Linked DNA regions of Homo sapiens: regions 2, 3 and 4 are each linked to region 1. Evidence: promoter capture Hi-C in 16 types of primary human blood cells and fetal thymus (Javierre and others, 2016). All regions are on one chromosome and are shown on one strand. Each heading gives the region's core, a stretch centred on a gene start or on the middle of the fragment in contact. The rest is flanking DNA. Distances are from core to core; before and after follow the strand shown. Region 1 holds the start of VCF2 (VCP nuclear cofactor family member 2). Region 2 holds the start of TSR2 (TSR2 ribosome maturation factor). Region 3 holds the start of GNL3L (G protein nucleolar 3 like). Region 4 has its middle 110 kb from the start of GNL3L.

Evidence for each region. Contacts are between HindIII fragments. The CHiCAGO score rates a contact against its expected background, and 5 or more counts as called.
Region 2: a contact is called between the fragment with the promoter of TSR2 here and the fragment with the promoter of VCF2 in region 1, in 7 of 17 cell types (monocytes, naive CD8 T cells, fetal thymus and 4 more). The highest score is 8.0, in monocytes.
Region 3: the fragment with the promoter of GNL3L here is called in contact with the fragment with the promoter of VCF2 in region 1 in 12 of 17 cell types (monocytes, total B cells, activated CD4 T cells and 9 more); the score reaches 20.5 in monocytes.
Region 4: a contact is called between a fragment that was not itself captured here and the fragment with the promoter of VCF2 in region 1, in 1 of 17 cell types (monocytes). The highest score is 5.4, in monocytes.

The regions. Positions count from the first base shown.
Region 1 is chrX:55,158,430-55,165,488 of GRCh38, forward strand. VCF2 (VCP nuclear cofactor family member 2) reads right to left here and starts at 2,756. Exons shown (of 3, transcript NM_001166701.4): 1 at 2,708-2,756; 2 at 700-799. The coding sequence starts at 2,727. RefSeq lists enhancers at 2,419-2,718, 2,544-3,044, 3,045-3,545. The HindIII fragment of the contact is 5,872 bases long and covers 1-4,453 here.
Region 2 is chrX:54,435,497-54,442,555 of GRCh38, forward strand. TSR2 (TSR2 ribosome maturation factor) reads left to right here and starts at 4,908. Exons shown (of 5, transcript NM_058163.3): 1 at 4,908-5,006; 2 at 5,194-5,284. The coding sequence starts at 4,926. RefSeq lists an enhancer at 4,626-4,675. The HindIII fragment of the contact is 25,574 bases long and covers 1-6,396 here.
Region 3 is chrX:54,526,642-54,533,700 of GRCh38, forward strand. It overlaps GNL3L (G protein nucleolar 3 like), which reads left to right and starts at 3,578. Exons shown (of 16, transcript NM_001184819.2): 1 at 3,578-3,778; 2 at 5,879-5,944. The coding sequence starts at 5,926. RefSeq lists enhancers at 2,979-3,499, 3,154-3,203, 3,654-3,713, 3,724-3,983. The HindIII fragment of the contact is 4,164 bases long and covers 2,302-6,465 here.
Region 4 is chrX:54,634,795-54,641,853 of GRCh38, forward strand. It overlaps a transcript of GNL3L not described here. Among named protein-coding and RNA genes, the nearest start is that of GNL3L, 110 kb to the left of the region's middle. RefSeq lists enhancers at 4,389-4,914, 4,481-4,610, 4,901-5,150. The HindIII fragment of the contact is 7,123 bases long and covers 1-6,163 here.

The DNA.
Region 1 (7,059 bases), core at 1,506-4,005:
GGGTATAAAATACAGTTAGATAGAAGGAATAAGTTATAGAATTCAACAGTACAGTAGGAAAATTACAGTTAACAATAATTTATTGTATATTTCAAAATAGAAGAGAAGATTTATAAGTTCCCAACACAAAGAAAAGATGTATGTTTGAGGTGATGGGTAGCCCAATTACCCTGATTTGGTCATTACACATTATATACAGGTATCAAAATATCACATGTACCCCCAAAATATGTACAACTATTCTATATCAATAAAAAATTAAAAACTTCAAACTCTTTTTCCAGCACCATTAAAGTTTTGCAAAAATCATGAGACTGCCCCAAATTTTTCACTTTTTTTCACTGAGAAAGCAAGACTTGCCTTCCAGCTAATAACATATCACTATGTACTAGAAAATATGTTTTCCATATAAAAAGAAGGGAAGTAAGACTACTATTCCCTGCTCATATGAGGGGACAAAATTACAGGGGCTAATTCCTCCTGATTATGTTTAGCAAAGTTTTTCTGTGCTTCTTTTCCATTTTCTGTGAGATACTATATCATAATTTAAAGCTCCAGCTCAAAAGCCACTGTAATCAAGCAAGAAAACTTTTATGAAGGTTTCTTGGAATAATACATTTCTTTTCATTATGGAGCACAAATTGGATAATTTAGTGTAGGCAATGAATGAAATAGAGGCAATCTGACCATACTTGCTACCTCTGTATCTTGAGAATCCTGAAAGATAGGGTTTCTCTTATTCCTTTTGGGCTGGGTGGAATGATGGTTGCCCTCTTTACTGCCATTTCTTCTTCTTTTCCTGAAAATAAATTGTAAAGAGAGAGTTGTTACATGAAACAACTGATCTTTTGGATGCTTAAATTGTAAAGCCGTGACAACATACATATATGAGAACTTGTCTGAAAAAATGTCACTATCTGCTATCCCAAGATATAAAAGTCATATAAGTACTCCATTACCAGGCATGAAGATAAAAAAATGTAATACAAGAACTCTAAGTAAAGCCAAGCTGTGCATTTCATTTCTAGAAATAATTTTCATAACCTTAAATGATCCTTGAAAATAAAGAATATGAGGAATTTAATAGCTAAGTTTTCAAAATCTACCTAATTAGTTTCATTGTTTTGACTCCATGAAGTTACAATTCCAGGGTAAGTGATTTTTAACTCCTTCAATAAGATCGTAAGACATGTGTGTCTGCCAGTGTCTACTCTTAAGTTCTTATGCCAGTGGTGTAGCGACACTGAAGAGATATTTCTTGTATGCTGAATGTGGTTAGGCACTTACTGTTGCTATACCAGCTAATATTATGACATAGTTACTCCACTAGATTGTCACCATGAGATTGTGGCTGATTACTTCCTTGAAACATTCTTTTCTCAAAATTGTTTTCAATGATTGGTAAGATTACATCTTCAGTTTCAAGTTCCTTGTCAATAAGTAATCAGATTGCAGCGTTTGACATAGTTTTCACAGCACTCTATTATTAACCAGACATTTGCTTAGAGACTTACTTTTGAGTTTTTGGTACTCCTAAGAATGGCTGAGTTTACTCATTTTTATAATTTCATTACTCTTTAATCAATTCTCATCTCTAGGAGACTGAGTACTAGGAGACTCTAGGAGACTGAGTACTGAGTACAAAATGCCAAATAAAAAATCACGTAGAAAACTGCTCCTATATTACACTCCATTATGAAATGATTGATTATATATAAAGAAAAAATGACCGGGTGTAAATATTATTTTATTTCACAATGTTTATTGAGCATCCACTAAGTGCTAGGCACTCCTCCAGGTGCCAGGATAAAAGAGTGAAACAAACACATGCCACAGCTCTGCCTTCATTAGGGAGCATGGTGATGTTTGTCTTTGATCATGGTATTTTGAGTATTTGAGTATTTTGCGCTCAAGTTTTACTGAAACTTTCAACAGCTTACAATACGTTTGCATTGTTTTTAAAACAGAGTAATACTATGAAAATGATTTTTCAAAGTGTGAAGCTGAGTTTAAAAAGCGGAATGTTCATGAAACAATGTTAATCTCATTTTTTAAAATGCAACTTTACGAATGAAAAACATCTAAGGAAATTTATCACAGAATATGATTAATGGTCACGGCTGGGTGATCGGACTGTGGATAAGATTGGTTTCCTTTATTACGCTTTAACAGTCTAACCAAGTTTTCTACCATGAGATTCAGAGACGTTTGTAATGAAAGAATACATTGATAAAGGTCCATAGAACCCCAGTAACACGTGGAGAAAGATGACAAAACCAATCAGAGAAACAGAAATACCAGTTGCTAGGGTACCTAGCAGCCTCACCGAGGAAATGCCAATTTGAAAAACAGAATGCTATTGTCCACTGACTGAGTTTTCGCGAGGGACCACATCCCCACCTCACCCCCGCCTCCAGGGCTTGTAAGGCACTGACAACCAAAGAACCAGCATGTTCTTTCGGAGAAGGCTTCGCGGGATTTTTTTTCAAGCACGAAGGGCGGGGCACGAGGCAAGCAGGGCCGCGCCACCGGCCAACACTGTCACCTGCAGGTCATGAGAGCCGAGCGCCACCAACCCCGGAAGAAAATACATATCCGCTGCGTTTCCGCCCTGAGCCCCGAGATCTTGGCTGAGAAAGCAAAGCGTGATGACCGTGGGGACCAGAGCTCGGACTGGTACCGGCCGGAAAGGCCCCGACGAACTTACCGTACAGGGCAGCCTCCCATAGTCCTGCCCTCGGAACCATAGCAACCGCGCAGGAAGTTCCTGCGCCGCCGGAAAAACGCAGCCCGGAGGGCGGGGCTGGCCAAGGATTGACGGGCTCTGGGCCTGCGCATCGGAGCCCGGGGAGGTCGGCTCCTGTTTCCTCTGGGTCCGCCGCAGGCTCCCTTCCCTGCAGTTGGGAGCTGACGCCTGAGGGACGATCCGCTGAGGGTCAGGCTCTGCTGCGCGACTGCCCGAGCCGCCCCATGTTCGAGACCTGTGCCAATCCCATGGACATTCTCCTCCCACCCAGCCAGCCTCTGAACACGCTTCTCACGTGGCACACGCCCTGTCCTCGCAGCCCTCACACCGCTGATCCTCCTCGGCGACCTCAGCGCCCCCGGGGCTGACCAGGCCGTGGCCGGCGCCTCTCCGTCCTCGGGGGGGTCTCCTTCCCCCCACTTAAGTCTCTTCTGCCCGCGGTCATGCCCTGGGCCTCAGGAAAGACCGCGCCCCTCCACGATGTCCATTTCTTGCATCCCCCATTCTCATAACGGGCAGCACCCGATCGTGTCCTAACAGCTACCTCTTCCAGTGCCCCAGCATCCACAGCCTTTAGCCTCAAGGAGGCCTCCTCTCCACTAACCACAACCGCGTTCCTCACCATTCACCTTCCTTAGCCAGCTTACCCAAAGCTATTAACTCTCTCCTCCCTACTCTCCTGGCAGTCCCCCCGCCGCCAAGTAGACAAACAATGTACACCCTCCACAAGTGTACCTTCTCTGTCTAGTCTACTTACAAGATCCCTCCACAAGCACCAGCACCCAATTTTCTCATGATATTCACTGATATTCCCTTGAGAAAATAGAAGCAATCAGAGAAGAATTCACACCACTTCCCAACAGCAGTAGACCTGCACTTATAATCTTGGCTGCTTCCCTGGAGGAAGAGACAGGATCCTACTTGAGACCAGGCCCTTCACCTGGATCCTATGCCTTCCACCTTCTTAAGGGATCATCCTTTGCAGTTATGCTTTCTCCTGAATTATCATGTTCCTCTATCTGTATTTATTATCTAAAAAGTTGGCAAAGGGAGTGCTAGAGTTTAGGCTGATCCTGGTTCTTGCTGTTAAGTAGGTGATCTCACAGGGGGCTGCATTCCCTGAGGATGGAAGGGAAGATGTGGAAAGTGGCTGATTCAAGAACTAAAGATCATGCCATAAAGGAAGCCTAACCCAGCTAGGGGCTAGGTGACCCTGCAGCCGAGGCTGTGGAGTAGACAGCCCTGGACAGGGGACTTTTAGACTGCCATGTTTGTCGCTGCATTGTGCAATTTTAACAAGAATCCTGCTAAGTCAGTTTAGTTAGAATTTCCCATCATCAATATCTCAGTTAGGTTCCTCATCCCCCAGGTGATGTCTAGTCACCCTGGCCCACCTTCACCAACAATCCTGTTAGTTCAATTTAGCCACAATACCCCCTTACCCGTGGTGTTTCCTCTTAGTAATTTTCCGTCCATTGCTCCCCACCCTGCTCCTTGGCTATAAATTTCCACTTTTCGTTGTTGTATTTGGAGTGGAACCCAGTTTCTCTCCCTTCACTGCAAAACCCCATAGCAGTGGTCCCTACACCTATCTTGATGGTCCTGAATGAAGTCTGCCTTACCGTTCTTTAACAAATGCCATGAATAATTTTTTTTCCTTAACACCCTTCACTTGGATCCCATGCCCTTCCACATTCTCAAGGAACAAGCTTTTGTAATGATCATTCCTTTTACTTGAATCACCATGTTCTCCATGTCTATCGGATCATGCTATCGTCTACAAAGTGGGCAAATAGATGGTTAGAAATGAGGGATTTTGCTTTCAAGAGCTGATCTTGGTTATTGCTGTGTTGTAGGTGAGACCCCAAGGGGCTGCATTCTCTGAGGAAGGTGGAGGGGTTGGAGGGTATGGAAAGTGGCTGATTCAAGAGCCAGGGGTGCTACCATGGGGCAAGCTTAAGCCAGATAAGGACTAGGTTACCTTGCAGCTGAGGCTGTGGAGTGGACAACCCTGGCCAGGGGCTGAAGGGAGGATGAAGCCCAGATTCAGAGGGGTCTGCAGAAGCTAGCACACATGGGCTGAGGCTGAGTCAGCCAGGGAGTACCAGATTCTGACCAAGATGAGAGAGACAAAAATGCAAGTTACACCAGCCACAGACATACGTGAGCAAATCAGCATCACCAGCAGGATTTGGGAGATAAGTTAGCCTTCCTTCAGAAACCACTGAGGACACTGCAATCAACATGAGACTCCTAAGCAATGCAGACCATGTATTAGGCCATCTTGCATTGCTGTAAAGAAATACCTGGAGTCTGGGTAATTTATAAAGAAAAGAGGTTTGAATTAGCTCATGGTTCTGCAGGCTGTACAGAAAGCATGGCGCCGGATTTGTCAGAGGCGTTCGAACCAGAGCAATTCTATCTTGAAAAAATAGGAAAAATCTAGGAAAAAGGAGGCTGGGATTTGCTTGGCTGCATTCTCAGAAAATTAGGTATTTCTAGCCTCTAGATGTTTTTACTGAACAGACCCAGACTTAGGAGTGTCGTGATATCCCAATATCTTGAGAACAGAAGCATTCCTAATTTTGCTTTAAAGATCATAATATCAATTCTTGCAAGATATAGTAATTAAGAAAATTAATCCTTTATCACAAACCCTTGTAGCAGAGCACATCTCCCCATAATCTTTTTTATCCTGTATATAAACGAGTATTGTACCTAGGGTGGATGCATTCCTTTTCTTACTTTTGGGAATATCCTACTCTGTCTGTAGAGTAGCTGTACTTTCACCACTTTACTTTCTTAATAAATTTGCTTTTGCTTTGCACTGTGGACTCACCTTGAATTCTTTCTTGGGCGAGATCCAGGAACCCTCTCTTGGGATCTGGATCGGGACCCCTTTCTGGTAACAGCTTCTGGGGAGGCCTCAGGAAGCTTTTGCTCATGGTAAAAGGTGAAGCAGGAGCAAGCACTTCACGTGGCAAAAGCAGGAGCAAGAGAGAGAGAGAGTTGGAGGAGGGGAGGGAGGCGCCACACACTTTTAAATGACCAGATCTCATGATTATTATGTAATGTCCGATTTTGTCCCTTGTAATAATCTCCACTATAAAGAGTGCTTTGTGAGGTATTAATTTGACACCTTGAGTTTTTATGTGGTTCATGTTTGCAGGGTATATCTTCTTCCATCCTTTACTTGTAACTTGTTTATTTTTAAAGTGAGGTTCTCTTTTTCCCAAGATACAGATTAGCGATAAATATATTGTGAAAATCAAGATCTTCTTGCAGCCGTGAAACGGTAACAGTAAAAACACCAAAAAATCAGATGTAGAAGTTAATATGGAACTGAAGTGTTATGCAGAAATCCACAGAATAATTTGTTAGGTTCCTCAAAAGAACCTCAATCAAATTTACTGACAGCCTTTATAGAAAGATAACTTGAAACTAAAGTGATACATTTATATGAAAAATATTACTTTATCACCCCATTTTCTGCAGTAGGCTTTTAGATGAAATTTCATTTCACAAAAGTGTTCTGTTGCTAAAAATATTTTGAAAATGGCTGTATAGGATAATGTTTCAGAGGTCTCTCAGCTTAGAAATTTTGGGATTCAAATATCCTTCTCTACATTGAATGGAAAAAGTGAAAAGAGAACAATATCATGGGGGAGGGAAATGTTGGTCTACTGTATTTTTCTTTTCTTTTTCTTCCTAAACTAACCGGTCTGTGTTGGTTCTCAGCTGTGCTGTTAATCCAGGTAAAAGATGCCCTTCAGGAGAATACATGGATTCATTGGGCCCCAGGGAAGTTTTGAATTGCTCAGAAACAACAGCCAGAATAACTTTTGAAAGGCTGTAAATGGAGATGATTGAGATCTTCTGATATGGTTTGGTGGTGTCCCCACCCTGTGGAAGGGACTCGGTGGGAGGTGATTGAATCATGGGGGCAGGTCTTTCCCATGCTGTTCTCACGATAGAGAGTGGGTCTCACAAGATCTGATGGTTCTATAAGGGGGAGTTTCCCTGTACAACCTCCCTCCCTTTGTCTGTTGCCATCCGTGTAAGACGTGACTTGCTCCTCCTTGCCTTCCACCATGATTGTGAGGCCTCCCCAGCCATGTGGAACTGTGAGTTCTCCATTAAACCTCTTTTTGTTTTTTTTCTTTTTTGTAAATTTCCCAGTCTCAGGTTTGTCTTTATCAGCATCATGAGAACAGACTAATACATCCTCTGATTTATGTTACTTCTCACTCAAGTTGCTCAAAGTGCCTTCTCATCAAGAGCTGTTTGGGTAGAGACAGACACATTTGTTCAGC
Region 2 (7,059 bases), core at 3,658-6,157, 720 kb before region 1:
ACCCCCATACACACACACTCCCCCATCACCCAGCAAAATTCTACTCAAACTTTAAGAATCAGCTCACGTGTCATCTCCTCCGAGAGGCCTGCCACAGCCCCCAGGGCTGGGTCAGGGACCCTCTGCTGAACTCCCATGAGTCCCTGTGCTCCTTTCTCCCTGGGCATTGCACAGAGATAGATTTATCGTAGAACAAATCAATCTTAAGCATCAGGGCCCCACACTTGCACAGGCCACTTCCAGGTCTCTGGTTATTGAGCCTGGTCTATTTGAAGAATGTTTAAGATTTGTCGCTGTGCCAAGAGAAGTTAAAATAACCTGAAATCTTACAGCTCACATGTAAAAGAAACTAGAAATTTTCCCAAGTTTGACAAAAATCTTAAAATGTACATTACTAATAATGAGTTGTGAAATTGAAACTTTTCTAAAATACTAATAATAAAAAATTTTACTCAACTGAATTGAAATCAATTGAATTCTTTGTGTTCTCTCTAGAAAATATAAAATACTTGTCATATGAAGAGTTCTATAAACTCTTTGATATCAAAAAATGTAGAAAAATTAGTAGAGAGGTGAGTCATGTAATTAATAAGAATATTTTATTTTGGCAGGGCGTGGTGGCTCATGCCTGTAATCCCAGCACTTTGGGATGCTGAGGCAGGCGGCTCACCTGAGGTCAGGAGTTTGAGACCAGCCTGGCCAACATGGTGAAACCTTGCATCTACAAAACAAAAACAAAACAACAAAGTAATATTTTATTTTTCTGGGTTAGAAGATGTTTGTGACATTTGTCAGTTTTTAAAAATTTGTAATTTGTAAATTAGATTTCTAATTTTAAGGAAATACTTTCATCAATAAATCAACAAATAAGTAAAGTGTACAATTCAATGGCTTTTAGTATAGTTTCTTCTGATTTGCTCCTTGGCTTTCTCCTTAGCTTTCTCACTGTGTGTTCACATAGTTGTCCCTGTGTGTACACCTCTCTGGTGTCCCTCTTTGCCTGTGTCCTCATCTCCTCTTATTATTATATTTTGTTGTTTTTTGTTTTTGAGACAGGGCTTGTTCTGTCACTCATGCTGGAGTGCAGTGGTACAATCATGGCTCACGGCAGCCTCAACCTCCTGGACTCAAGTGATCCTCCCTCCTCAGTCTCCTGAGTAGCTGGGACTACAGCCATCACACTCAGCTAATTAAAAAAAAAATTTTTTTGTAGAGATGGGGGGTCTTGCTTTGTTGCCCAGGATGGTCTCGAACTCCTGGCCTCAAGTGATCTGAGCCATTGCACCGAGTTCTAATCTCCCCTTCTTTATAAGGACATCAGTCATAACGGATTAGGGCCCACCCATGCAACCTCATTTTATCTTAATTACCTTTTTAAAGGCTCTATCTCCCAATACAGTCACATTCTGAGGTACTGGGGGTTAGGGTTTCTACATATGAATTTGGGGGGTGGTGGATACAATTTAGCTCATAACAGCAACCATTACCTCGTCTAATTTTTAGAACATTTTCGACACCCCCAAAAGTAGCCCTGAAGCCATTTAGAAGTCACACTCTATTCTTTCCCCATCCAAGCCCTGGGCAACCATTCATGTATTTTCTGTCTCTATAGATTTACCTATTCTGTATATTTCATATAAATGGTATCATACAATATGTGGTCTTTTTTGACTGGTCGGTAATTATACGTCCTCTTTCGTTCCTGATTTCAGTAATTTGAGTCTTCTTTCTTTTATTTCTTCCTCAGTCTAGCTAAGGGTTTGTAAATTTTGTTGATCTTTTCAAATAACTGACTTGGCCAGTTGCATTTGCTCACACCTGTAATCCCAGCATTTTGAGAGGCGAGGCAGGTGGATCGCTTGAAACCAGGAGTTCAAGACCAGCCTGGGCAACAAAGTGAGACACCCCCTCCCAACACACACACACACACACACACACACACACACACACACACACACAACCACACACACACACACACACACACACTAGCCAGGCATGGTGGCCTATTCCTGTAGTCCCAGCTAATCAGGAGGCAGAGGCAGGAGGATCCTTTGAGCCCAGGAGTTTGAGGCTGCAGTGAGCAATGTTTGTGCCACTGCATTCCAGCCTGGGCAACAAAAAAAGACTTCATCTCTGAAAAAAAAATAACCGCCCAGGTCCGGTGGCTCACGCCTGTAATCCAAACACTTGGGAAGGCTGAGGTGGGCAGCTCACTTGAGGTCAGGAGTTCAAGACCAGCCTGGCCAACATGGTGAAACCCTGTCTCTACTAAAAATACAAAAATTAACGGGGCATGGTGGCATATGCCTGTAATCCCAGCTACTCTGGAGGCTGAGGCAGGAGACTCCTTTGAACCTGGGAGGCAGAGGTTGTAGTGAGCTGAGATTGCACCACTGCACTTCAGCCTGGGTGACAGCACCAGACTCCATCTCAAAACAAACAAACAAACAAACAAAAAACAACAACTGACTTTTGGCTTCACTGTTTTTTCTTTTCTCTATTGTTTTTCAATTCTCTATTTCATTTATTTCTGTTCTATTATTTATTATTTCCTTTCTTATGCTTGCCTTGGGATTACTTTGCTCTTCTTTTTCTGGTTTTGTGAAGTGGAAGTGTAGGTTATTAATTTGATATCATTCTTTCATTTTTTATTTTTTTGAGACAGGGTCTTGCTCTGTCCCCCATGCTGGAGTGCAGTGGCACAATCACGGCTCACTGCAGCCTTGAGCTCCCAGGCTCAAGCAATCCTCCCACCTCAGCCTCCTGAGTGGCTGGTACTACACGCATATGCCACTATGCCCATCTAATTTTGTTTGTTCGTTTGTTTGTTTGAGACAGAGTCTCACTGTGTCGCCCAGGCTGGAGTGCAGTGGAGTGATCTCAGCTCACTGCAACCTCTGCCTACCGGGTTCAAGCGATTCTCGTGCTTCAGCCTCCCAAGTAGCTGGGATTACAGGTGTGTGTCACCATGCCTGGCTAACTTTTGCATTTTTAGTAGAGACAGGGTTTGTTCATATTGACCATGCTGGTCTCAAACTCCTGACCTCAGGTGATCTGCCCACCCAAAGTGCGGGAATTATAGGTGTGAGCCACCATGCCTGGCCTAGTTTTCAAATTTATTTATTTATTTAGTTTGAGACAGAGTCTCACTCTGTTTCCCAGGCTGGAGTGCAATGGCACCATCTCGGCTCACTGTAACCTCCGCCTCCCGGGTTCAAGCCATTCTCCTGCCTCAGCCTCCCAAGTAGCTGGGATTACAGGTGCTTGCCACCAGACCTGGCTAATTTTTGTATTTTTAGTAGAGACGGGGTTTCACCATCTTGGCCAGGCTGGTCTCGAACTCCTGACCTCAAGTGATCTGCCTGCCTTGGCCTCCCAAAGTGCTGTGATTACAAGCGTGAGCCACCACACCTGGCCTAATTTTTAAAATTGTTTTTAGAGATGGGGTCTCACTATGTTGCCCAGGCTGGTCTTGAACTCCTGAGCTCAAGCCATCCTCCCGCATCAACCTCCCAAAGTGCTATGATTACAGGCATGAGCCACCATGTCCGGCTCTTCTTTTTAGATATGCATGTTTACAGCTAAAGATTTCCCTCTAAGTTTTGCTTTAGCTGCATCTCATGCATTTTTTTATGTTTTTGTTTTCATTCATTTAAAAGTGTTTTCTAATTTGCTTTGTGATTTTTTTCTTTGACCCATTTATTGCTTAGGAGTGTGTTAATTTCCATATATTTGTGAATTTTGTAAGTTTCTTTTTACTGATTTTTAACTTCTTTCCATTGTGGTCAGACAACATACTTTGTATGTTCAATCCTGTTAAATCTATGGAGGCCTACTGTATGGCCTAGTGTATGATCTGTTCTGGAGAATGTTCTTGTGTACTTCAGAAAAACATGTACAGTTATCCCTGGGTATCCGTGGGAGACTGGTTCCACGACCTCCGGAGGATACCAAAATTCATAGATGCTCAAGTCCCTGATATAAAATGGCATAGTATTTGCGTATAACCTATGAATATTCTACTGTATACTTTAAATCATTTCCAGATGTGACTCACGCCTATAATCCCAGCAATTTGGGAGGCTGAGGCAAGTGGATTAAACCCAGGAGTTCGAGACCAGCCTGGGCAACATGGCGAAACCCTGTCTCTACTAAAAACACAAAAATTAGCTGGGAGTGGTGGTGGGCACCTGTAATCTCAGGTACTCGGGAGGCTGAGGCACGAGAATTGCTTGAAACCAGGAGACGGAGGTTGCAGTCAGCCGAGATGGCGCCACTGCACTCCAGCCTGGGCCACAGAGTGACACTCGGTCTCAAAAAAATAGATAAATAAATAATTTCCAGGTTACTTATAATGCCTAATAAAGTGTAAATGCTATGTATATAGCTGTTATACTGTACTGTTTAGGAGAATAATGTCAAGAAAAAAAGTATACACATGTTCAATGCAGATGCAATTTTTTCCTGAATATTTTCCATCTGAGGTTAGTTGAATTCACGGACGTGGACTGCCCCCCATAGGGAGAGCTGATTGTATTTTACTGTTGTTGGTTGCAGTATTCTATACAGATGTTAGGATGCTTTTTTTAAATGCAGATTTTTAAGGCTATACTCACTGAGTCCTCTGCCCCAGGGCCTGGAATCTGTATCTGTAATAAGTTCCCCACATATTTCCTCCGCAGTACCCACGGATCCGGAAACCATGGCCCCACACGTCCTTCAGGTCTGGTGTCCTTTGATTTAAGTGAGTAACTCTGGTGGTGTCATCGATCGCTCTGACAGATTTTTCTTTTGCTCTAGTCTTGCTGCCAGGTCTGCGGAAAAGAGAATCCTGTGTTCTCAGGCTCGGCTTGCGTCTCGTTCTGCCTGGGCCGAGCTACAGAGGGATTGGGCCGCCGGGACGTCACGTGGACTGGGGCCGGATAATGGCGGGCGCTGCAGAAGATGCGCGAGCTCTTTTCCGGGCTGGGGTCTGCGCGGCCCTGGAGGCCTGGCCGGCCTTGCAGGTCAGTGGGGCCAGGGCCAGGGCAAGGTCAAGGTTAGGGCCCGGGGCAGAACAGGAGTTGGTTGGGCTAGGTGCCTGAGGCTTGGCTAGGCGGCATAAGAGGAGTTGGCTGGGCGGCGTAAGCGGCCTCCAGGCTACTCCAGGTCTGCTCCCAAGCTGACTTGGTGGGCTTGGACCTGTGTTTACAGATCGCTGTGGAGAATGGCTTCGGGGGTGTGCACAGCCAGGAGAAGGCCAAGTGGCTGGGGGGTGCAGTGGAGGATTACTTCATGCGCAATGGTGAGTGAATGTGAGGCGCCGCGACCCGCCTGTGTGGGGGTGTGGAGAGGAGGAGCCCCATCCCGCAGAGCCTGCATTTCCTCTCGAGCAGTTGTGGATTGGTACCTAAAGGTGAGGTGGAATGAATTCAGCTTTTAGAATCAGAATCCTGGATTCCAGTGCTTTACGGGCTGTACCACTGACTCGTGGGATTACTCTGGACAAGGCAGTTTACCTCCCTGAGACTCAGTTTCCTAGTTTCTAAAATGCGTATAAAAGTATCCACCAGAGCGCTGTACAGTAGAAATATTATGCTAGTCACATATAATTTAAAATTTTTTAGTAGCCACTTTAATAAAGCAAAAAGCAGATGAAATCAATGTTAGTAAACTCGGTGTGTATGAAATATTTCAACATGTAGTCAGTATAAAACATTGAGATATTTTACATTTTTTAGTATTAAGTTTTCAAAATCTGGTATTTTACAGTTTTAGCACATTTCGATTTGGCCTAGCCATATTTCAAGTGCTCAGTAACCACCTGTGGCTGTTTGGACAGCAAAGATCTACACTGTAGGCTCGTCTTGAGGGATATACAAGAACAAGAGGCCCAGTAGAGGGCCTGTTGCATAGTATGGTTTTTAAAAAAATCTTCATTCAATTTCTAGCTTTGGAGATGACATTAGGCAGAGTCATCTCTCTCAAGAAAGTATACTATCCATTGAGGATCCACACACGTAAATAGTTACAACATTGATAGATTTTCTGATAAAGAGGAGCTCAGGGTGCATGGGGTAACAGGATGGGGAGACAGCTTCTTAGTGGAGGTGGTGAATTGGGCTGGGTCTTAGTGAGAAGGAGTTAACTAGGTGGGGGAAGCAGAGAGAGCAACACTCAAGTTCTGTGGCATGAGGGTATAATGTGTTATATTTGGAAAGTAGCAGGGAGCTCAGTATTGGAGTATGGGCGTGTGTGCGTGGGGGGTGGAGGAGTGGTAGAGAATGAAGCTGGGGTGTGGGAAGCCCCCTTGAAAAGCATAAGACATGGAAGCCCTTATGTGCCTTTGATTTTATCATTTAGGCCAGTGTTTGCCAAAATTCATGCTAACTAGTTCTGTTAGATGTTCAGTGAAGAAGCTTCTCCAGTTACCTTATGTAAGAAAAACTCTTGTTCTGCTCCCACTGAAAAGTCTTAACACTCATGAACATATTAAAGGCTTGGGTAAGAATAAGAACCACTAAAAAACCTGTTTGCTTTTGTTTCTCATTAGCTTTCTATGGATAGTGTCCCTTAAGACCCAGCAGAACAGATATTTCTCAAAGGCAAACTGTGAAACACTGCAGTGGCTGGTAAAAATTCGTGGGCAGGTTCTAGGGTGAGAAATAGGATGGGATTTGCTGGCTAGAAAGTTCAGGAAATAATCAGTATGAAGCATAACCTGGAGAGGGAAAGACTGATGAGAACGCTGTTTTTGTCTAGAAACTGATGAGGCCTGAAGTAGGACAGTGGCAACAGGCATGGAAAAGAAGGGGTGGAATAGGGCCTTGGAGATTGGTTGGCTGTAGACAGGGAGGGAAAAAGAGGCAAGTTCCTGGTTTGAGTTGATGGGTGGATTAGGTGTCTTTTCTCGGAGTAGAGGAACCCTGGAGGATGCGAAGCAGGTTTAAAGAGTAAGGTGATGAGTCTGGCTTTAGATATGGAAGATCTGCGGCATCTGTGAAACGTCCAGGCACAGAGTAGTCTCAGTTGGAGATAAATTCGGGGGATATTAAGTTTGAGTGGTAGGGAAAGCCAAGA
Region 3 (7,059 bases), core at 2,328-4,827, 630 kb before region 1:
CACTTTAGGAGGCCGAGGCAAGCAGATTGCTGGAGCCCCGAGTTTGAGACCAGTAAAAAAATCTTTTTTTTTTTTTTTTGAGAGAAGTCTCGTGCTTGTCCCCCAGGTTTGAGTGCAATGGCTTGATCTTGGCTCACTGCAACCTCCGCCTCCCGGGTTCAAACGATTCTCCTGCCTCTGCCTCCCAAGTAGCTGGGATTAAGGCGCCTGCCACCACACCCAGCTAATTTTTTGTATTTTTCTTTTTGGTAGAGACAGGGTTTCACCATGTTGGCCAGGCTGGTCTCGAACTCCTGACCTCAGGTGATCCGCCTGCCTTGGCCTCCCAAAGTGCTGGGATTACAGGTGTGAGCCACAGTGCCCAGCCGAGACCAGTAAAAACATCTTTAAAAATTAGCTGGGCATGGTGATGTGCGCCTGTAGTTCCCCAGCTACTCGGGAGGGTGAGGTGGGAGGATCCCTTGAGCCCAGGAGGTGGAGGTTGCAGTGAGTGGAGGTCATGCCACTGCACTCCAGTCTGGGCGATAGAGCAAGACCCTGGCTCAAAAAAAAAAAAAAAAAAAAAGGAGGAAATACACATAAAGCAATAATACGTATTTTCCAAGAATGCATATATGCAAAAATATGCATAAAACACCTTTGAATGGCTGCCTATAGGAGGGAAATGAAAGTGGGAAGTAGAGATGAAAGAGATTTTAAAAAATAACACAATCTCTCACTAAAGTAATAAATATTCATCAAATACATGGAAAACACAGAAAAGTACAAGGAAGAAAATTAAATTCACTGATAATGTCACTTTGATTTGTTAGAAATGCAAATCCTGGGCCCTAAACCAGACTTACTGAATCAAAACTCTGGGCATGAGGCCCAGTAATTGGTGTTCTAACAAGCCCTCCCAGTGATTCTGATGCTGGGGAAAGTTAGAGAACCACTAATCTAGATTTAACTATTATTAACATTTTGTTTCAGATCCTTGTAGTCTTTTAAAAAATATGAAATATTTCGGACATACAAATAAGTATAGAGAAGATAACAAAAACCCACGTACCTACCACCTAGCTTAGAAAGTAAAATATTAGACAAACAGTTGAAGTTCCCTGTGTATCTCTCTCTCATTCTGTTCTTTTGTTTTCTTCCCCAGAGGTAATCAGTATTCTGGATTTGGTATTTCTCCTTAAAAATTATTGTTGGCTGGGGGCGGTGGCTCACACCTGGAATCCCAGCACCTTGGGAGGCCAAGATGTGGTTGGATCACTTGAGCTCAGGAACTCAAGATTAGCCTGGGCAACATGGTGAAACCCTGTCTCTACAAAAAATACAAAAATTAGCCAGGTGTGGTGGTACATGCCTGTAGTCCAGGTACTTGGGAGGCTGAGGTGGGAGGATGGCTTGAGTCAGGGAGGTGGAGGCTGCAGGGAGAGGAAATCAAGCCACTGCACTGCAGCCTGGACGACAGAGCAACATCTTGTCTGAAAAAAAAATTATTGTTTATATATCTATATAATCTATAAGCAACATTGTTTGCTGTTTTCTAGATTTTAAAACTTTATATAAATGGTTTCATACTTTATGTGTCCTCTGCAATTTGTATTTTATCTCAGTATTGTGTTTTTGAAATTTAGCTGGGTCAATGCATGCAACATGATTCATTCTTTTTCATTATAGTATTCTGCATAGTATTCTGTCATATGGCTATACCATAATTTACTTATTCATTCTCCTGTTGGTGGAATTTTGGGCTGTTCACATTTTTTTCTCTATTACAAACAGTTCTGCAATGAACATTCTTCCACATGCTCATTGAGCAAGTGTATAAGAATTTCTCTAGGAGTTAAAGTTTAGAGGTGATCTCTATCTATCTATCTACCTATTAATCAATCATCTCCAATACTAGAACTGCTGGGTCCCAGGGTCATCTTCAGCTATTCTGGATACTTCCTAATTGTTTTCCAAAGTCGTAATAACTAGTTTCCACAAGATTTCATTGTATTTTTTCCCTTATATCTTGTGCATTTGGGATTTTGTTTAAAAAGTCCTTCCCCAGTCACAAGTCACAAAGATATTCTCCTGCATATATTAACTTCATAGTTTTACCTTTCACATTCACAGTCTACCCTCTTAGGTGGAATAAATAGAGATCCAGTTTTATATTTCTTTTCATGGAGAGCCAAATTTCCCAATGCCATCTACTAAACAGCCCATTTCCCATTTTTTGTGGTGCAGGCCTGTAAACTCACCCATTTAACAAACAGTTGTTGAAGCCTGCCTCATACCAGTCTTGTGCTGGGTGTTGTTGAAAGCTTGAAGATACATGGCCCCTGCTCTCAGGGAGTTCACCCTCCTGTGGAGACACAGTCACATAAACAACTACAGTATTGTGATAAGTGCTAGCTTAGCTGTATAGGTAAGGTGCTCTGGGTTTCTAACTCATCTGCGAAAGTCAGAGAAGGTTTCATCGAAGTGACAAGAGTTAGGTCTTAGAGAAACAGAGCAAAATTGCAAATGCAGGGGGAAAGGTGAAAGTGGTCAGGGCTGGTTTCAGGTCCAGAGGAATTTCATGTGTCTCTAGGATGAGAGGTTAGAAGCCCTCCAACGATGTAGAGAGGTAGTGAGTCCTGTTTATGTAAGGGATAAAGGGACAGATGGAGTCATTTTCAGCCCGTCTGTGCTTGAAGTGGAGAAACAAACCCACCCTCGGAGGCACAGAGTTCCACCTACTCTGTGCCCCACCCCAGGGTTTAGGCTTGAGGAAGAGGAGGGGCTGGAATTAAACCATCAAGAAGAAAACATTTGCAGACTAATATTTACTATTTTGTGGGGGAGACCTCACTTCCCAGCCAGCTCCTTGAGATGGCTTCAGAAACCCCTACTTGCCCCACTCCAGAGATATAAATTCATTCCCTTCTGCAGACGCTGCTCCGGGATTGAGGGAAGGATGGAGTAGGAGGGGAAGAAGGCAAAAGGGTGGGAGAGGCTTCTAGTGTGGGAGAGGCTTCTAGTCGTTCTGGCTCCTGCTCCAGCTCGGGTTGGGTATGGCCATAGATCTGAACGTATGCAGAAAAAGCTAGGAGTGCTCAGGGATGGTCTGGGGCTCAAGGACCCGGGAAGGTGGTTGGGAATAGCTAACCAATTCACTTCAGGTGGGGAAATACTCGGCCAGACACGTGACCCAGGCGGCCATTTTCTCACACCCTGCTGTCGCCATCTTCCAGGCAGACAAAGACACCATCCCCCACCCTTGTCTGATTCGGGCGTGGTGACTGCCTGGTTATTGAGATTTGGGAGCACGCATATTTAACCCCAGACAGATGCCCGCAGACAAAATTTTGGCTTGCAAGTAAGGTATATGGCCGCACCAGTCGACCCGCCGCTTCTTCCCGGTCATTTCCCCGTCCTCCTTCTCCCTCCTCCGCTATTTCCTTAACTACGGGGCAGGCAGGAGGCGGGGCCAGCGTGGTCGCGAAGAAGGGACGGGCGGGCGTGAGCTGTCAGTCAGAAGCTCCGCCCCCCCCCCCCCCCCCCCGCGGAGACCGCACGGTGGGCGGAGTCGGGCGCCGCCGGCCTGGGATCCGGAAGTCGGAGCCTAGCTGCGCGAGAGTTTCTGCTCGCTCAACCGAGTTGTCGTGTTGCCCTCGCTTCTCAGATCCCCGCCGGAAGTGTAAGTAAGAAACTTCTCTCCTCTTTTCTCACAATGTGCGCTCACCTAGACGGCCGGGCAGTTAGGATCGTCTATTGGATGTGAAACCAGAGATGCCCGCCAACCTGGAATAGAGAGGTAAACAGCAGGATCCCTTCCAGGGTAGAAGGGACCGGAAGAGGGGCAGGGATCGCGGCACACGTGGAGACGCGCCGAATTGCCTTTTCGCGGAGTGGAGTTTGCCGGGAGAGGGGCATTGCCCCATCCCACCTAGAAAGGTGTAGACCCGGGACACACTGTGTAGAGAGGCACAAACTTCACTTGTGTGGTGAAGCGTTGATCGTCCTCAAGATAGTGAGGCTTCATTCTGCATTCACCTTGTATAGACAGGAGTCGACCCACCAAAGGCATGGGGGACATCCACCCCAACCGTGTAGAGACATCTCCCTCCACCCAGCTGAGCAGCGCAGACTTCTCCCGACTTAAGGCACTTCCTTGGCTTGGCTCTAGACAGCCGTCTCGAGGCACCTCCTCAGGACAGACAGAGGCTTTGATGTATCTGCCCCCATACCAGCATAGAGGAGCTTAGAAACATTTAATATACAGAGGGAGGGCACCTCCTCCCCATACGCGTAGACTCAGAGCCCTCAGTATCGCTCCCCAACTCACCCGTCCCCAAAGTGGTTGCAGTTACAGGCCTCAGCTTATGGACAACTAAGCCAATTGCCCCCTCCTCTTAGGTTAGAGTGAGTCCCCATTGTGGAGAATCAGACCTGATCCCTACTTCCGTAGCCCCCGTTTTACCGAATGTGTAATTTTTCGAAGCACCCAACATGCTTCGAAGCAAACAGGAACAGACCTTAATCCATGAAGAGACAGTCAGGTCTGCCCCTTGAGGGGCCGTGGGGGTAGAGGGGCTCAGATGTGTTCCTCTCCCTTTGAGGTAGACACAGATCATCCCCCTACCTCCCCCTACCTCCCCCAAAGATTTAGAATCACTAAATGTAGCAAGGGAGATACCCCACAGGAGCAGATATGCAGGTCTCCCTCCCTGTAATGTTGAGAGGGAGTGACATCGCTGATTACCTGGCAGTTCAGTGCGTATGGTCTCTCCCCTTTACCCAAGGTAGTGGAGCTCAGATCTGTTTCTCTCCACCCAGGGTAGAATCACAGACGCCCCCACCCCCAAGTATTAGGGCTGATCTATTAATTTATAGCTGCATTGCCAGCCCCCTCCACACACCACCCATGCAGAGAACCAGAGCCCCTATTTCTTTCAGTGTTAGTGTGCCGCTGACTTCAACCAGCATAAAAGATGAAAGTTGTCACAGTCCACCTTCCATAGAAGGGTCCAGAATAGCTCACTGCAGGTAAGGTGCAGACCCGCTTATTCAAAGCTGCATAGTTGTGGAATCAGGCATATCGATCCTGTACCACAGCCCTCTCCAGGGTGAAGAGACGCAGGACCCATCCCCACAATCTAGAGATAAACAGATCTGTGATTCTTTCCCCATGCAGCAGAGATGCACACAGCCACTTTGTGGGTTTCCCCAGTTTCTCTGCACCCCAGAGTAGAGGGACAGATGGCAATCCCCCCAACCCAAATCACCAAGGTATAGACCCCAGGCATATGCAGGCACAGATTTTTACCCCCTCCTCCAAGATTTTGTACTTATCTCAATCCATATAGACACTCAGGTAAGAATCCCTGTTCTCAGGCCCCTTTTCCCCAGGGTAGACTCCTGAGATCTATTTACGCCCTTCCCCACCACCTCTCCCAGGGTAGATGAGATATAGAATCCCCTACTTGGGAAAAGAGGCACTATTATCACCCCATATAGAAATAGACCATCCTTGCATGTCCCTTTCCCCTCAGTGTGGAGGTGTTGAGCACTAGTCCCCTACCTAGAATATAACACTACAGTGTGGAGGAATAAGGACCAAAGACCCCATCTGACCCCATTTGACCCCACTGGGCTCAAAGCCCAGTGGCTTTGAGCCACTGACTCCACCCCGGATGAGGTTGAGACCTATTCCTCCCTTTGGGTAGTATGACACTGCCTTCTCTGTGTGGACTCAGCCATATGAGGCTTTAGCTCCAGCTTCTCCCAGTTTTCCTAATTATTACGCCTTCCTCATAATGTTCTTTAACATTTTACCTTTAGGGGACTTAGGAGGGGGCTTGTGGCATTGTGATTCCCAGCTGTCTTCAAATTGCTTCTTCTCCCATTCTGACAGGAAGAGAGCAAGCAGATTTGAACCTATCTGCTTTCAAGCTGGTCATCATGATGAAACTTAGACACAGTGAGTTTCCTTTACCACCCCTCCCAATCCTGTGCTTTTAATGAATATTCATAGAATTTCACAGCAACTTTTTGTTTTTTTGGTTTTTGTTTTGAGATGGAGTCTCGCTCTGTCACCTAGGCTGGAGTGCAGTGGTGCAATCTCAGTTCACTGCAACCTCCGCCTCCCGGTTTCAAGCATTTCCTGCCTCAGCCTACCGAGTAGCTGGGATTATAGGTGTGTGCCACCATGCCAGGCTACTTTTTGTATTTTTAGTAGAGACGGAGTTTCACCATGTTGGCCAGGCTGGTCTCGAACTCCTGACCGCAAGTCATCTGCCTACGTCGGCCTCCCAAAGTGCTGGGATTACAGGCATGAGCCACTGCGCCCAGCCTTCACAGCAACTTTTAAAAACTGTTGAATATGTTTCACATCACTCAGTCTGGATCTTTTTCATATGGTATCATTGCTGTCCTCCTGACTTCCTTGTAAGAGAATGTTTCCATTATGCCCCATTCTCAATTTACAGATGAGGAAACTGAAGCTTAGCAAGGTTAAGTGACTTGATCTGAGGTGAATTGCGATAAAAACATATCACACTGCCTGTAACCCCGACATGTCCTAACATTTTTCTCTATCAGTTGGTACCATAAGTTGTACTAGTGATTAAGAGCGTGCCTGTAATGCCAGCTGCTTGGGAGGCTGAGGCAGGAGAATCGCTTGAGCCTGGGAAGCAGAGGTTGTGGTGAGCCAAGATCATGCCACTGCACTCCAGTCTGGGCGACAGAGTGAGACGCTGTCTCAAAAAAAAAAAAAAGGAATAAAACAAAACAAAAAAAGAAAAGAAAATGATAACATTTGGATAGCACACTGGCACTGGGCAGGCTGGATGAGGATTGTGCTCTGTTTTCTGTGTGAATGCTGGCCCTGCCAGTGGACAGCTTGGTGGGAAAAAAATACATTTTTTATATAATCATAAAAATGTCATCAAGAATCATACTGTTAATACCAAAAGCAAATAATCATACTTTTATTTTATTTTTTATGTTTTTTTGAGATGGACTCTTGCTTTGTTACCAGTAGAGACGGGGTTTTGCCATGTTGGCCAGTCTGGTCTTGAACTCCTGACCTCAAGT
Region 4 (7,059 bases), core at 1,352-3,851, 520 kb before region 1:
TTTTTTTTTTTTTGAGATGGAGTCTCGCTCTGTCACGCAGGCTGGAGTGCAGTGGCATGATCTCGGCTCACTACAACCTCTGCCTCCTGGGGGTTCAAGCGATTCTCCTGCCTCAGCCTCCTGAGTAGCTGGGATTACAGGTGCCCGCCACCATGCCAAGCTAATTTTTGTATTTTTAGTAGAGACAGGGTTTTGCCGTGTTGGCCAGGCTGGTCTTGAACTCCTGACATCAAGTGATCCACCCATCTCGGCCTCCCAAAGTGCTGGGATTACAAGCATGAGCCACTGTGCCTGGCCAATTCTTTCTTTTCTCCTCAGACTTGATAATTTCGATTATCCTATCCTTAAGTTCACTGATTCTTTATTGTGCCATCTTAGATCTGCTGTTCAATACCTCTAGTCAATTTTTCATTTCAATCATTGTACTTTTCAGCTCCAAAATTTCTGTTTGGTTCCTTTTTATGCTCTGTCTTTTAAATTGATATTCTAATTTTGCTCATACGTCATATTCCTAATTTCCTTTAGTTATTTGTTCATGTTTTCCTTTAGTTCTGTGAGCATATTTAAGTCAATTGTTTTAAAGTGTTTGTCTATTAAATTTGATGTCTGGACTTCCTCAGGAATAGTTTCTGTCAATTTAGTTTGTTTCTGTAAATGGGCCATAATTTCCTATTTCTTTGTATGTTTTGTGATATTTTTTGTTGAAAGCTATATGTTTGAATATCATAAAATGTTAAGGGGGTACATTAAATTCTCCTTTTTCCTCTGAGTTCGCTGTTTATTTAATTTATGTGAAGGCTATAGTAGTCCATTTGTTTAGTGACTTTCCCAAAGTACTTTTAGGAAGACCGTTTTTTTGTGTGTGTAGTCATTGATATTTCTGTTTTTCAGTTTGTGCTCAGCTAGTGTTTTGATAGGATTTCCTTGAATGTCAGGAACTAAAAAAAAAAAAAAAATCAATCAAACAAACAAAAATTACCTCCCCCACCTCATCCTTGCAGAATCATTTTGTTCTAGGGCATTTTTTTTCAACACCTAACTAGGCTTGCACTAAGCATAGGACTCAGCCAGTGGTGAAACATTAGAGTTTTCACATGTTGTTTTTCTGAGGATGTGTCTTGTGTGGAGCATGCACATGGCTTTCTAAATCTCCCCATATATGTGGCTTCTTTTGAATGTCCGAATTTCTCAAATAAACTCTCCCCAGCTCTTGCTCTCAGTCCTTAGGTGGTCTGTTTTGTTTTGATCATAATCTTTTCCCCTGAGATCTGCATATTGCTCATTTTTTCTTGCATTGATTTTGAGCTTGCCATTTTATAGCCTCAGTTCTGAGTGAAGTGAAACACAGATGAATACTTTATGTCAGTCTTTTAGCCCCAAGGCAGGTTAGAACATACATACACAACAATATGCAAATAAGGTCTGCTCTGTTTCCTCCAGGATCAGGAACAAGTTTCCCGCAGGAGAATGTGGACTTTCCTATTCAAGACCATGACTGCACTGGAGAGGAGGTGGGGCAAGAGCAAGTAAATATGCCATAAAACTTTCTTACCATTTTGAAGTTGCCTTTATCTTTCTTTTTTTCAACTTTTATTTTAGGTTCAGAGAGTACATATGCAAATTTGTTACATGGGTAAGTTGCATGTCACTGAAGTTTGGTGTACAAATGATCCCATCACCCAGGTAGTGAGCATAGTATACAATAGGTAGTTTTTCAACCCTGGCCCCCTCCCCCTCCCACCTCTAGTAGTCCCCAGTGTCTATTGTTCCCATTTTTATGTCCATGTGTACTCAATGTTTAGCTCCCACTTATAAGTGAGATGTGGTATTTGGTTCCCTGTTCCTGTGTTAATTTGCTTAGGATGATGACCTCAAGCTGCATTCATATTGCTGCAAAAGACATGATTTCATTCTTTTTTATGGCTGCACAGTATTCCACAGTATATATGTATCACATTTTCTTTATCCAATCCACTGTTGATGGGCATCTAGGTTGATTCTGTATCTTTGCTATTGTGAATAGCACTGTGATGAACATACACATGCATGTGTCTTTTTAGTAGAATGGTTTATTTTCCTTTGGGTATATGAGACTTCCAGTAATGGGATTGCTCAGTCAAATGGTAGCTCTGTTTTAAGTTCTTTGAGAAATCACACTGCTTTCCACAGTGGCTGAACTAATTTACATTTCCACCATAAGTGTATAAGTGTTCCCTTTTCTCTGCAACCTCACTGGCATCTGTTATTGCCTTTTTCTTTATTCAGCATTTGCTTGGTTGCTATAAACTTTTCATTGTTTTCCAGAGTTTTGAGAAAGTTGGTTCTGTCAGTTTCTGCTTGATTATCAGTTTCTGTAGGGGAACAAGAGCTTGGAGCTGCCTACTTCACCATTTTGCCAATGTACTACTGCCTCCATCATTTTCTACTGCCTTATCTTCCTTCTTTATTTTTTTCATTGTACATATTATGACCCCGAAATTAAATTCCAAATGTATTTCTTGACTTGGTAATTGTCTGTTTCTCTCAGTAGAATGTTGGCTCCAGGAGTACAGGGACTGCATCTGTCTTATTTACCCTTGTGTACCGCTAGAAGTGTCAGGCTGTGTGTGTGTATACACACATATATATTTTGCAGTTTGTATGTATACACACATATACACACATGTGTGCACACATGTGCATGCACACACACACACATATATATCTCACTATCTACTTTTGAATGAATGTTATGCCAGTAGTTCCCAATACTGGTCTGTCATCTTGTGCAAGGGCCTGATATAGTTTTTGCCAATCTGCAGTAAAATGAAGATAAAAAGGACACTGTAGTGTATATTTGATTTAAAGGCCTCTGCTTTATCTTATTTACTTGCTAATTTGTGCAAAACTGCAAAAGATATGTATAAATCAGGGAAATGTAAATACTTGGATATTTTATAATATTAGGAAATTATTCTTAAATTTTTAGATATTCTGTGGTATTATGGTTATTATTATAAAAGAGTTCTTATATTTTAAACACATGAACTCAAATATTTATGGAGAAAATGGCGTCTAGCATTTGCTTCAAAGTAATCTGGGATACGATGTGTGTTGGGGTTTGAGATGTAAGATGCTTGGCCAGGAGGTGATAATTGAGAAGCTGGGTGAGAGGTACTTGGGGGTTCATTTACTCTTCTTTCTACTTTTGCATATGTTAAAAATTTTCATATTAAAGATAAATTAAAAAGTTCGTTCCTTTAATGGGGGATTATGTGTAATTGTCTTTTCTTAAAATGATGGTGATAGAAGGCAGTAGTTTGTTTTTAGTGTCCTTCTTCCGCAATATTTTATCCATCCTTTGCAATTTTTTGAAATATTGTTTGGGCTGTGAAGTCCTAAACTCTTGGGACTGTGAACTTGTGGGACTGGATCTGATCACATGAGGCCACAAACATTTACTGACAAGATCCTGGGTGCCAGACCCTGTTCTGGACTAAAAATATACAGCGAATTAGACACAGTCCACATTCCTGAGAATTGCTGTAGAAAATGAGGTAAGAAATGTAAAATCCTTCACACAGTGCCTGATACAGTGTAAGTGCTCAATAAACATTAAGTATCATCATCACCACCCTCACTACTATCATCATCACCTTCGATATCTTTCCATGTCAGTTTATATATAGCTCATTAAATTAATTAATTAATTAATTGAGATAGTCTGGCTCTGTTGCCCAGGCTGGAGTGCAGTGGCGCAATCTCCGGCCCACTGCAACCTCCGCCTCCCGGGTTCAAGCGTTTCTCCTGCTTCAGCCTTCTGAGTAGCTGGGATTACAGGCGCCTGGCTAATTTTTGTATTTTTAGTAGAGACGGGGTTTCACCATGCTGGTCTCGAACTTCTGACCTCAGGTGATCCACCCACCTCGGCCTCTCAAAGTATTGGCATTACAGCCGTCAGCCACCATGCCCGGCCTATATATAGCCCATTTTAAACTGATAAGTTTATCAACCATCTCCTGCCCCCACTGATACTTTCAATTTTTCGTTATTGCCAACAAATCAGCACGGCTTACACTTGTTCATAAGGCTCCTTGCAGTTTTTTGTCCTCTAGATCTAAGGTTCTTAAAGTGTGGTCTTGAACCAGTTTGCCCCAGCATTACCCTGGAAGTTGTTAGAAACACAAGTTCCTAATCTCTGATAGTAGATGGGCCACAACAATCTGTGTTTTAACAAAGCCCTGTAGGTGATCCGCATACACTTCTCTAGGAGTCTTGGATGTATATATATGGAAATGGGATTGCTGAGCCAATAGGATATATACCTTTAAAATAATGTTTTTTAAAATAAAATAGAGAGGGAGGGTCTCACTGTGTTGCCCATGCTGGTCTCAAACTCATGGACTCAAGTGATCCACCCACCTTGGCCTCCCAAAGTGCTGGGATTACAGGCGTTACATTAAAAAAAATTTAATAGTCAAAGAGCTCTCCAAATCAGGCACGAACTTTTACTTATATATTAAGGTCTTACTTTGAATAGGGTTACTAAGCCTGCTGAAATAACCCCTTTTCTTCCGGTACCCACTTTCATCCGACGTGCCCCGCCCGCCCGACTCGATTGCATCAGCCTCCTGTCAGCCCCGCCCCAGTGTACTTGCACTCGCAAGCGCAGCTGGGTTATCTTGGGACTAGACGCTCACGGGGCGGGGCTTCGATTCTCACTCTTGGAGCGGGGAGGCCAAAAGAGTCGGAAAGGGGCGTTATCTCTTTCGGAAGTGAGTGGGACAATGGCGAGCAAGCGGTCGTGAGCCTTGAGCTTTGCAGCTTTTCTTGGCTCCCATTTCCTCCTAAAGCCACGAGTTTACCAGCGTCTCTTACAAGTAGTGTGTCGCCACTTTAAAAAAAACATCAGGAAAGGAAAAGGGAGAACCCCGGAGCCCGAAGCTACGCCCGCCTGCGGCAGGGGTGCGCCAATTGTCCAGTGGTGAGGGCGCATGCGAACCATTGACAATGACGTAATCTTGCAGCTCACAGCCGGAGTGAGGCTTTCGGGGAGGGAGGAGCTCCGGTGAGAGTAACAGGGTCGGATTTGTCTGGGCCAGGCCCAGGCTGAGACGCCTACTAGGGGATGGAGGGCCCCAGAAGGAGGGAGAGGGAGGAGTCTTGGACTCTCTCGGAGAACGAGGCTGGGGCTGGCCACCGAGAGTGGAAGCCGCTGTCCAGAGGTTAGAGCCACCCAAGAGCTGGTAGTCGAGTGGCCGCCAGGGGGTGACCGTGCCTGCGTACGTCCACAAGTGGGCCCATAAAGACTGGCCCATATATTTTTGAAACTGTTTATTTTTGTATCTGTTTCCTCTTCTGCCCTGACATCCCAGAGAAAGAGTTGTGGGTGATTGACCTTTGAATCACCAGCACCTCGGGGAGGGCCTGGTACAAAGAAGACACATTTTTAAGGCGGTTGATTGACGGAAGGAAAAGACTGAAAAAACGAAAACAACAAGCCAAAAACCCCAAACCCAGAGATACCCATACATGACATAAAGTTAAGGCCTTTTTAAAAAGTAATAATAGAGGAGAAATTTTAAATGTCCATCAGCAGAGCTTGAGGCCATGCAGTTTTTAGGTTGTTGCAGTCAGAGTGTACACACAACCCTGCATCCTTAGTTATGGCATAATAATTTTTCTCTGTTGCTATAGAATCTCCACAGCCGTCATCTCTCAGCAATGGTTGTAGAATGTTCCATTAGACAGCTGTGCCACAATTCACTTAACCCTTCTCTTGTTGGATATTAAAACTACTTTCTAGTGTTTGACCACCAAAATATATCTCTGCAAGGAATAATTTTGTGCTTAGAGCTTTTCCTGTAGGAGTAGGGGTGGGTGGATATCGATTTAGGAGCAGAATTACCAGGAAAATGTCATAAACATGTTTTAGGCTCTTGTCGACCCGCTTTCCTGAAAGGGATCATACCCGTTGACATCAGAAGCCAAGTCCGAAATCAAACCTGGTGGACTCCGGGTCTTGTCTGTCTCCAGGCTGGTTTTAATTTCCGTATCCTGCAGCAATGCAGAAGTTTATTATTAGTTCTGACCTTTGGGGCAAGGCAAACACACACCAAAGGTTCGGGGACAACTTTAGCAACTGCAACAGCTGACATTGTGAGCGGGTGCAGCTCAGGTTTCAAGCTTGAGCAACTGGGTTGGATGAACTTGCCTCACTGAGACAGGGAATCTGAGAAGAGGAACAGGTTTGGGAGGGAGCAGATGAGATCAGTTTTAAATACATTTAGTTCGAGGTGCCTTTGGGACATCTAAAGGGAGGTATCCAGGAGACAGGCATACATACGGATAAACAACAGTTTTTGCCCTTCTCTGAACTCCCAGAGCTCCCTATCTGTGGATTTCTCATGGCTCAGTTTGCCTTTTACCTTTTACTATCCTCAGAGCTCCTTGAGGCCAGGATAAGGGCCTCATTCATTTGTGTATCCTTCCTCCCAGTGCCCAGTACAGTGCTTTATACCTAGAAGGCCATAAAAGTCTGTCCTGTATAATGAAATTTCATTGATTTCTTAATTGGATGATTCCTGCAGTAGGGGTCCTGATCTGGGTGAAAAAGTTTGGGAACCTTAAGAGTTCTGGGAAGGCTTCCTGTAAGAGGTGGCATAATGTTACCGTGAATAATTATGACTATTTGTTGAACACCTGCCATGTTCCAGTCACTCTGCTGCACACATGCATCAGAGATGCCACCACTATCTTTGATGGCCACTGGCCATCTTTACATCCCCTTCTGGGAGCACTGGCTCTACTTACAGCTCCTACCAAATGATCAAGCAAGGACTAACTATGTATTACATCCACCCTTCCTTTAGGATACAGCACCTGATCCAAGGCCAGCCCACAACCTGTGAGTTGTATGGCCCAGCTTTAGAAGATGAGGTGGGCCAATCAGATTGCTCTCTTGGGAATGTGAAATAAGAGATCCAGAGGAGAGTTGCCAGTTAGTTGTGGGGAGCTGAGCTGACAGGTCCAGTAGACCAGGATGCTGGGTAGGTGGGTGCAGCATTATGAATCAGGTCA